Linked DNA regions of Homo sapiens: regions 1 and 3 are each linked to region 2. The links are contacts of gene promoters, found by promoter capture Hi-C in blood cells and fetal thymus (Javierre and others, 2016). All regions are on one chromosome and are shown on one strand. Each heading gives the region's core, a stretch centred on a gene start or on the middle of the fragment in contact. The rest is flanking DNA. Distances are from core to core; before and after follow the strand shown.

Region 1 (2,876 bases), core at 176-2,675, 260 kb after region 2:
CATTTTGCTGGAACTGAAAGGACCTCAGAGATCTCATCTAAACTCATTTTGCAGGTAAGAAAACAGGCTGCAAAGAGGGGAAGGGACTTACCTGGAGTCACACGATTGTTTAGAGGTAGAACCAAAATTGGCTCTGTAAAATCGCAGATCTCAAGATGTGCTGGGAGAGACCTCAAGAGATCATCTGGTGGGCTCTGCCCTCAGACCAGCAAGGTAGGGTGAGCCACATTTTACAGATAAAGCAGTTGAGGGCCAGAGGGGTAAGAGGCTTCTCCTGACACTCACTGAGTCCCTTTGCTGCCTCAGTACGTGGTACCTGTCTCTCTACTCCACGCTACACTCTTCTCACAGATCCTCAGTACGAGTGTCACATGAATCACATTCAATAAAGAACAGTGCCCAACAGTGTCAGGGACCCAGGGACAGATTACGGGCTTCTTAAAGTCTCTCCTAAGCCAATGCTGTGAAAGGCTGAGTCAGACATCAAGGAATAATTTTCTGAGAAGGTGAGAGACTGGTGTCTGGATCATCCCAGATCTCTCTCCCTTCTTCAAATCTCCAGCGGTAGAGCCCTCCCACACCTCGGGCATCCGTGTGCGGCATGTCTACCTTGCCCAGGACTCAGTCCTTTTCCTGCCTTTGCCTCTGTGTCTCTCGGGCACCTCTGTGTCCTGGAGGCCCGTGCCCCAGGTCTGGTTTGGAGGGAGAGATCTGAACCTTCAGTGGAGGGACCGACTGGAGCTTCCTGAGTTCAGAAGGAGGGGAGGTACCAGTCTCTGTGGGCACCTGGGAGAATCCTCACACCTTCCTTTCAGCCCAGGGGGATAGGTTGCATAAGGGGGGTTTGTACAGAACATGGTAAATGACTCAACCTCCGGATTTCCTCCTCTCAGCTCAAGACCACTGTCCCTTGACTTACTTTCAAGGTTCTGGGTGATGGGACCTGGGTTGCTTCAGCATGAAGCCCAGGCTTTGTTCCCACAGCTCTGAATTGCTTCTCCTCTCAGGCCCCCGCTCACCCAGTCAGGTCCTCAGGGCCGGTGCCTAGTGGAGCCTTCCTGACTGGCACCCAGTCTGGGGGAGTCACATCCCCGTCTCCCCACTGTGATCCCAGCGTGACGTGCAGCAGCTGAACACATCCCAATCCTCTGCATCAGATCATATTCCAGGGGTGTGAGTCAGAGCCAGAGGGCACACTTCCTGAAAGAGGCTTTCAATCTGACCTCAATTGGTTTTGGCCAACGTAACTTATTCAACAAGTATTTGTTGAGTATCTTTTCTAGGAATGAGACAAGTTCTCAGCAGAAGGAGTAGGAAGAAAAAGTCAATAAACAAGTGTGCTGAATGTCTTCCTTTGCCCCTCCAGAACCCTCTCCACCCTTCATCACCCTACACAGTCCCCAGGTGGATGCCTCCCTACATCAACCAGCCTCTCATGGGGTGGGGGTGAGACTGGCAGGAGGAGAGTGGTGGGAGCCCCCTGCTGACCGGCGCTCTCCACAGTCCCTCCCAAAGGATTCCTGGCCCTCAGGCGCCCCCCGTGCTGGGCTAGCCCAGGGGACTTCACCACTCCAGGAACTTTCCCCAGATACTGTTGGTTCACATCTTCATAAAGCACCTTAATTAACTTCTCCTGCTTACTCCATTTGAATAGCCCATTGGGGAAACCACATAAACCAACAGGTAGGGAGGCTATTTTAGCTGGGGTGGCCGAGAAAGGTATCTCTGAGGAAGTGACATTTTAGTTGACACTTCAAAAATTTTGAGAAGGAGGCAGGTATGTCTTTGAGTGTAAGGGTGAACAGAGGGAAGGGTAAATGCAAAAGCCCTAAGGTGACCGAGAGAAAGGAAGCCAGGAGTAGATGCTGAATGAAAGAAGGAAGGAGAGGATAAGTAAGAAAAAGATGCACCTTCCCTCCAGAATGGGGCTGCAGGGGTTGCAAATGACTATTTTCATTCCCTCTGTCAAGGAGGATGGTGCCTAAGAAGCCGGGGCAGGTGGAGAGCAGGGTTCTCTCTGCCCCTGGATTCAGCTTCCCTGCCCCTTGGTCCTCCTGGCACCTTTACCACAGTAAGGTTGTCCCCACTGGGGAAGGAGATGACAGAAAGGAGCCCAGGGAAGGGCAGTTAGCCAAACCCTGCCTGGGGAAAGGCACCAGGACCGGGGACTCGATAACGTTTGAAAACCAGCAAATCAAGGTCCAAACAGCACACGCATGCAGTCCTATTGCTTCAGCGCCCACAGCTCAGGCCCACTTTTCTTTCTGGAGCAGAACTGGGGAGCAGAATGAGACTCCTGAGCTGAGAGACAGGATCTTAGGCCACAGGGAAGCTGCAGAGGAGAAGACAGACTGTGGGGAGACACTGCAGAGGGAGGAAGCTGCCCAAGGTGAGTCTGCCAAGGTCAGTCAGCGGAGGCAGTGGCTTGTGAAAGCTGCCCCCAACCCCCCTGCTCGGTGCACACCTCCCCACCCCTCTACACAGATTGCCACATGCCTGGGCCCCCAGGGCCCCCATCCCAGTGTTGCAAGATCCCGGTTGGGGTTGTGGGTGGAAAGGGGCCTCTTCACCTCCACCCCCTGCCGTGCTCCAAGCCAGTGAGGGGACTATGGGATGAAGGGGGCTGTTCAGGAGACGCTGAGGCAACAATAGGCAGGGCTGGCTGAGAGCCTGTGCGTCTCCTCTCGGACAGGCCAGTCACTTCCCATCACCCTCACCAGCACCCCCCACCCCCCGCAGACAGACCCCTCCTCCCGACTCAGCATGAGCTGCTCCAAAATGGGAGTGGCCCAAGCTGGACAGAACCCCTGGCTGACCTCTGTCAGCTGCTTCCATAAGCAGGCCTGGCCTGGCCTCAGAAAACCTCAGTGGCATAT
Region 2 (2,747 bases), core at 50-2,549:
AGGACCGAGCATGTGGAACATGCCAAGAAGGGGACACAGGCAGGGGCCAGGGCTTTGCCTTCCCCTCCTTGGAAGCTCCCCTAGGCTGGCACCTACTACCTGTCCTTGGAGGGGAGGAAGGACTCTGGCACATCTCCCTATCCCCTGGTGTCAGGAGCCACCGTTGCAGGGCATTTGCCGGTCAAGGGCAGTCTCCGGCCTCCCACTCTGCTCACCCAGCAACCCCAGCAGTCTGGCCAAGCCATATGGCTCCCAGGAGCACTATCCCACAGTAATTCATAGGTACAGTGTGAATGCCAGCCCCTGGAGTTGTGCCCACAGAGACCCGACTCCACAGGGACCAAGAGGAGCCCCCTGCCTCATAATGCTTTCCCCACCCCCAGATGCCTGAAAGCCCCCTGACAAGGACCAGAGCCTTTGATTCCATGCCAAGAGAGAAGGCAGATGCTGCCCAGTGGTTTCTGGGAGCCCCTTTAGCTCTGATGACCTAGGGTGGCATACGTGCAGAGGCCTTAACTCTACACTGTGGTCTTGCTAAGTAACCAGGGGAAGATCCTTTCCTGAGAAGAGATGTTTCTGGGCAGCAGACCACAGATAAAGTGCAGTTGCAGGAAGTCTGCCCTTTTTGATAGTTAGACTTCTTGGACGTGCTGAGAAGTGGCCATGTTAGAGGCTGTCATTGCCCCTGTCCCATCCCTATGTCTCAAGCTTCCTCAATGTCCCAAAAAGTCACCCTGTCTAACTGCAGTCCTTCCTGCTGCAACTGAAACCTGCTGTAAATGTCTCCGGGTGGAGAGGCAGCAAGAAGGCAGAGTAGGAGACGAAGAAGGGGCAGCTGCGGGCAGGAGAGGTGTCCAGAGGGCTTGGGGAAGGAGGCTACTGAAGGGTGAGCTGGGGGCTGGCATAAGGCTGGCCAGGAGCCGGGGGTCAGGGAGATGGAGGCACCAGGTTGGGAGGCAGCTGTTACCAGCTCGGTTTCCAGCAGGATGCCCTTGTGGGAGGTGAGGAAGGCCTTGTCCACCGCGAAGCCCTGGAGCTCTGCAACTACCCCCTCCTCAGGGTGCCGGTCCCGGCGATCTCGAGCACTGAGCATCTTCGTAGGGCCCACCAACACAGCCCCCTACTGCCAAAAGCCCAGCAAGAGAAACAGAAATCTGGCAGGATGGGGAAACAGACAGGAGCAAGAAGGCACTTCGAGAAACCTGAAAGTGAAGCAGGAGGCTTGCCCACAGGGCCCCGGGAGAGAAGGCAGGCGCTGGGGGCCTTGCCCAGATGGGCCCTCACCCAGCTGCCCAGAGTGCCTCTGCTGCTGCCTGCACCAGCCCCCTAGAGACCCATGGGGAGGGGCAGAGAGGAAGGAGGCTCTAATCCCTCCCCTTGCTTAGAGCCCAACCCAGCCTGGAATAGAGAAGGAAGGGGAGAGGAGGAGGTCCGAAAAGAAACTGGGAGGAGCTGGGATGTGAGTAGAGGAACAGGGGCAGGACTGGGAGCCCCCAGGGACCTAAGCCTGAAGACATTTGTGTCCCCCTTCTCTAACCTTAACCCTCTTGTTTGGCCGGTCCTTTCTCCCATTTCCTTTTAGGGAGGGTGTGAGCTGGAGCCCAGCCCAGGCAGCACCCCCAGGACCAAGCTGCAGCAGCCAGGACTGGAGGACAAAGGCGGATTGTTGGGGGACAAGGGGGCGCTCTGTGCCTGCTGCAATGCCTCAATGGGCCTCTGTCTCTCCAGCATGCCGGGAGCGCGGCCTAGCCCCCACCCTGGTGTTTGGGATGGGCCAGGGAGACAGAGATGGGAGAGGACGGGAGGGTGCAGCGGAAACTCTGGAGGGCGGAGAGAGCTGGCAGGGTGGACAGAGGTGAGGGCCAATGGTGGAAAGGAGAAGGGACAGGCTGGGAGACCGCGAGATGTTCAGGCACCACGGATGCCAAATACAGATTAGGCCATTTTTAAATAAAGATATTTATTTGGATAAATCTCTATACATTCAATAACAGCTTCCTCCTCAGAATCATCCATGTCAAAAGACTAGTAACTACACTAGAATGCACCCAAAGTAGATGCTCACTGAGTGATGAGTAAACAAACAAATAAAACCAGGGGCTCTTTCTTCTCCAGCAAGGGGGAAATATCTAGAAAGTGCCTGTGCTGGGCCAGGGTAGCAGGGGATGGGAAAAGAGGAAGAGACAGGAGTGGTGGCCTCCAGAAATGGGCAGAACTTTGAAAACCTTTCCTGAGAGAAAATGACAGGACACCAGCTTCCGGCGGCCCTAAGCAGCAGCTGCTCTTTTCAAAATGTGCAGAAGTGCAGGCTTTCCCCAAAGCCCCCCATCCTGTCCCGGGATCCTGCTGCTCCAGACAGCACTTCACAGGGGCCAAGCATCTGGGCATCCTGGCCCTTCATGGCAAGTGGTTGTACACCTGGCTCCAGGTTTCCCAAAAAGGGACCAGCCTCCAGCAGGTCCGGCTAGCCCATCACACGGGGCCGCACACACACACAAGCTAAGGAAACACGGTACAGCCTGCGCTCCAGGCAGTAGCCCTTGTGGGTGCCCTTCTCGCCATGGCATGGCCGCCGGTAGAAGACAGTCTGGTTGTGGTAGAGCAGCTCCGAGTTGCCCCGGGGGTCCATGTGGGAGCCTGTCTGTAGGCTGACGCAGTGCGGGCACAGGCAACGGGCGTGGTACAGGTCCTGGGGGAGCCGGTTCAAGTCTCTGTCCAACCTGTGGGGGCGGCACTTGTCAGGCCTT
Region 3 (3,166 bases), core at 173-2,672, 300 kb after region 2:
TTTTGGTCACTTTGTTTTGATTCCCCTAAGGGCTACGTTAGTCATGATTGTCTCCTGTCACTCCTGTTTCTGTTGCTGAAAGTATATATCATTGAATTTCTCCTTCCTAGGGGTGTCTTCATTAGATACTTTCTCTCCTCTGTTGACTGTGAGCAAATACATTTGGAGCCATTGTGTATCTGTTCTTTCAGGCAAGAGCAGCTAAACTGTCTGAGGGCAGCCAACCTGCTGAGGAGGAAGAGGATCAAGAAACACCTTCCAGAAACCTAAGGGTCAGAGCAGATCGAAATTTGAAAACAGAGGAGGAAGAAGAGGAGGAGGAGGAGGAGGAAGAAGATGATGAAGAAGAGGAAGGTGATGATGAGGGACAAAAATCTAGGGAGGCACCAATCCTGAAAGAGTTTAAGGAAGAAGGGGAAGAGATACCTAGAGTAAAACCAGAGGAGATGATGGATGAGAGACCCAAAACAAGATCCCAGGAACAGGAGGTGTTAGAGAGAGGAGGGAGATTTACAAGATCCCAGGAAGAGGCTAGAAAAAGTCATCTGGCCAGACAGCAGCAGGAGAAGGAAATGAAAACAACATCTCCCCTTGAGGAGGAAGAAAGAGAAATAAAATCTTCACAAGGCTTAAAGGAAAAATCGAAGTCTCCTTCCCCTCCTCGACTGACTGAAGATCGAAAGAAGGCCTCACTTGTAGCGCTGCCAGAGCAAACTGCCAGCGAGGAGGAGACTCCTCCACCTTTACTAACAAAGGAAGCATCTTCTCCACCACCTCATCCACAGCTCCATAGCGAAGAAGAAATAGAGCCCATGGAAGGCCCAGCCCCCGCTGTCCTCATTCAGTTATCTCCTCCTAATACAGATGCTGACACCAGGGAGCTATTAGTATCTCAGCATACTGTCCAGTTGGTAGGAGGCCTGTCTCCTTTGTCAAGTCCTTCAGACACCAAAGCAGAATCTCCAGCAGAGAAAGTGCCAGAGGAGAGTGTCCTGCCTCTGGTTCAGAAAAGCACACTGGCTGACTACTCAGCCCAGAAGGATCTTGAACCTGAGTCAGACAGATCTGCTCAGCCCCTCCCTCTAAAAATTGAGGAATTAGCACTGGCCAAAGGAATCACTGAAGAATGTCTGAAACAGCCATCTTTGGAACAGAAGGAAGGCAGAAGAGCTTCTCATACCCTTCTCCCAAGCCACAGATTGAAACAGTCAGCTGATTCATCCTCTAGCCGGTCCTCCTCATCTTCCTCCTCCAGTTCTAGATCAAGATCTCGCTCTCCTGACAGTTCAGGTTCTCGGTCTCATTCACCGCTCAGATCCAAGCAGAGAGATGTAGCCCAGGCACGTACTCATGCCAACCCTCGTGGTAGACCCAAGATGGGCTCCAGATCAACATCAGAGTCCAGATCAAGGTCACGTTCACGTTCTCGTTCAGCATCAAGCAACAGCAGAAAAGTGAGTATGAGAGAATCCCGGGTGTATTAATGTTCTGTCATATTCCAGTGGTTTTCATTTCAGCCCCTGGAGAGCCTGTCATGATTTCTGAAAGGAATAGGAAAAGCCTCCTTTACTCTCCTTCACTGATTACTTTCTCCTCATTTCAGAATCGTATTTTCAATTAACTGATTCCCGAAATGGGGTTCTTTTTCATTTTGAGTCCCTTGATAGAATGTTGAATTTATGTACTCATCTCCTCCACTAGATGGAAACTTCTTGAGGATGTGGGCATGCCCTTTTACGTGTGTGTCCCAGGATCTAGCATCTAGTTAAAACTTAATAATTTGTTAAATAAGTGGTCAAGGAGACCACTAAATGGGAATAAACACAGACAAAATGGGAGTAAACACAGACAAAAAGGTCCAGAGTATAAAATTTGGTCCATGGAAACTGGAAAACTCAGCAATCTACTGAATATATACCATATACAATAATTTTCCTTGTTATGTGTTTCATTTTGTTTTAGTCTCTGAGCCCTGGAGTCTCCAGGGACAGCAGCACCAGCTATACTGAAACCAAAGATCCCTCTTCTGGTCAGGAGGTTGCAACTCCACCAGTGCCACAACTGCAGGTCTGTGAGCCAAAGGAGAGGACTTCCACCTCCTCATCCTCTGTCCAAGCAAGGCGTCTGAGTCAGCCTGAATCAGCTGAAAAGCATGTGACCCAGAGGTTACAGCCTGAGCGGGTAGGCTATTGTGACCCCTCCCTACACAGAGATGGAGGATTAAGCAAGATCTTCCCTCTTGTCTTTGCTATAAAACTAAAAAGTTAAGTCTGGACAAGGTTCAGTAGAAATGTGGTGGATACCTGTTAATCCTGCTTAACTCATTTCCAGCTCCCTGGTTCGTAGAAGTTCTACATGAGGCTGAGCAGCAGGGTTATCTCCAGGGCCCCCAGGGTCAATTCTTCCTCATAACTCCTCCTTTTATCTGCCAAAAGGAAGTCAGCCTTTTCTCAGTTCTCTCAAAAAAGAATTCTGTCAGAACAAGGATCACTGAGGAAAAGGAAAAAAATTAAAAATTCTGATAAAATGATTACTGGCATAAATATTCTTGAAGTACCTATTTTTAAGCCATGTTCCTTTCCTTATTCTAAAATGAAATAACAGATACAGAGGGCCGTGTGTGGAGCTGGTACTGTGTATGTCCTGCCCTGCCTTTTTCAGGCTCCAGGTAGAAGAAAAGGAACCAAGCAGATCTAAATGTTTTGCTCTGTTCGTTTTTGCTATCTCCTGACAGGGGAGCCCAAAGAAGTGTGAAGCTGAAGAGGCAGAGCCACCAGCTGCCACACAGCCCCAAACCTCAGAGACTCAGACCTCTCATCTGCCAGAATCAGAAAGAATTCATCACACTGTGTAAGTGATATATCTCGACCGGGGTATAACAGGGAACTATGAGTGTGCGATAGTTCTTCGCTCCCTAGGGTTCTTTGACTAAGCAGTCCTAGTTTCCTTTTAAAACATAAAGGCAGAGCTTTATCTGGACAAAGGCTAGACTTCAGTTACTATGTTGGGAGCTGCCACCTTTAAGGTAACCTGAAAAGTGGTCGTCAGGGCACAAGGAAAACTCACCTGGGATCATCCAGCCAAAATAGTCAACTCCTTTAAGATTTAGGCAATAGAAGCTTCTGCTTCCACACTCAAAACCATGTAAGGGAATTGACTCCGGGCA

Evidence for each region. The method cuts DNA at HindIII sites, captures the fragments that hold promoters and counts their contacts. A CHiCAGO score of 5 or more calls a contact.
Region 1: a contact is called between a fragment that was not itself captured here and the fragment with the promoter of CMTM5 in region 2, in 4 of 17 cell types (erythroblasts, activated CD4 T cells, total CD8 T cells and 1 more). The highest score is 6.7, in erythroblasts.
Region 3: a fragment that was not itself captured here is called in contact with the fragment with the promoter of CMTM5 in region 2 in 1 of 17 cell types (total B cells); the score reaches 5.5 in total B cells.

What each region holds. Positions count from the first base shown.
Region 1 is chr14:23,113,462-23,116,337 of GRCh38, reverse strand. No RefSeq gene overlaps it. Among named protein-coding and RNA genes, the nearest start is that of CEBPE, 4.4 kb to the left of the region's middle. RefSeq lists enhancers at 373-1,572, 1,738-2,456. The HindIII fragment of the contact is 3,584 bases long and covers 1-2,876 here.
Region 2 is chr14:23,375,598-23,378,344 of GRCh38, reverse strand. It overlaps CMTM5 (CKLF like MARVEL transmembrane domain containing 5), which reads right to left and starts at 1,299. Exons shown (of 6, transcript NM_001288746.2): 1 at 968-1,299. The coding sequence starts at 1,093. It overlaps IL25 (interleukin 25), which reads right to left. Exons shown (of 3, transcript NM_172314.2): 3 at 1,942-2,720. The coding sequence ends at 2,465. The HindIII fragment of the contact is 2,824 bases long and covers 711-2,747 here.
Region 3 is chr14:23,077,835-23,081,000 of GRCh38, reverse strand. ACIN1 (apoptotic chromatin condensation inducer 1) reads left to right here. Exons shown (of 19, transcript NM_001386863.1): 6 at 192-1,454; 7 at 1,963-2,181; 8 at 2,735-2,850. It overlaps LOC124903288 (a long non-coding RNA gene), which reads right to left and starts at 2,735. Exons shown (of 2, transcript XR_007064077.1): 1 at 2,304-2,735; 2 at 1-1,541. RefSeq lists an enhancer at 1,410-2,609. The HindIII fragment of the contact is 3,399 bases long and covers 1-3,121 here.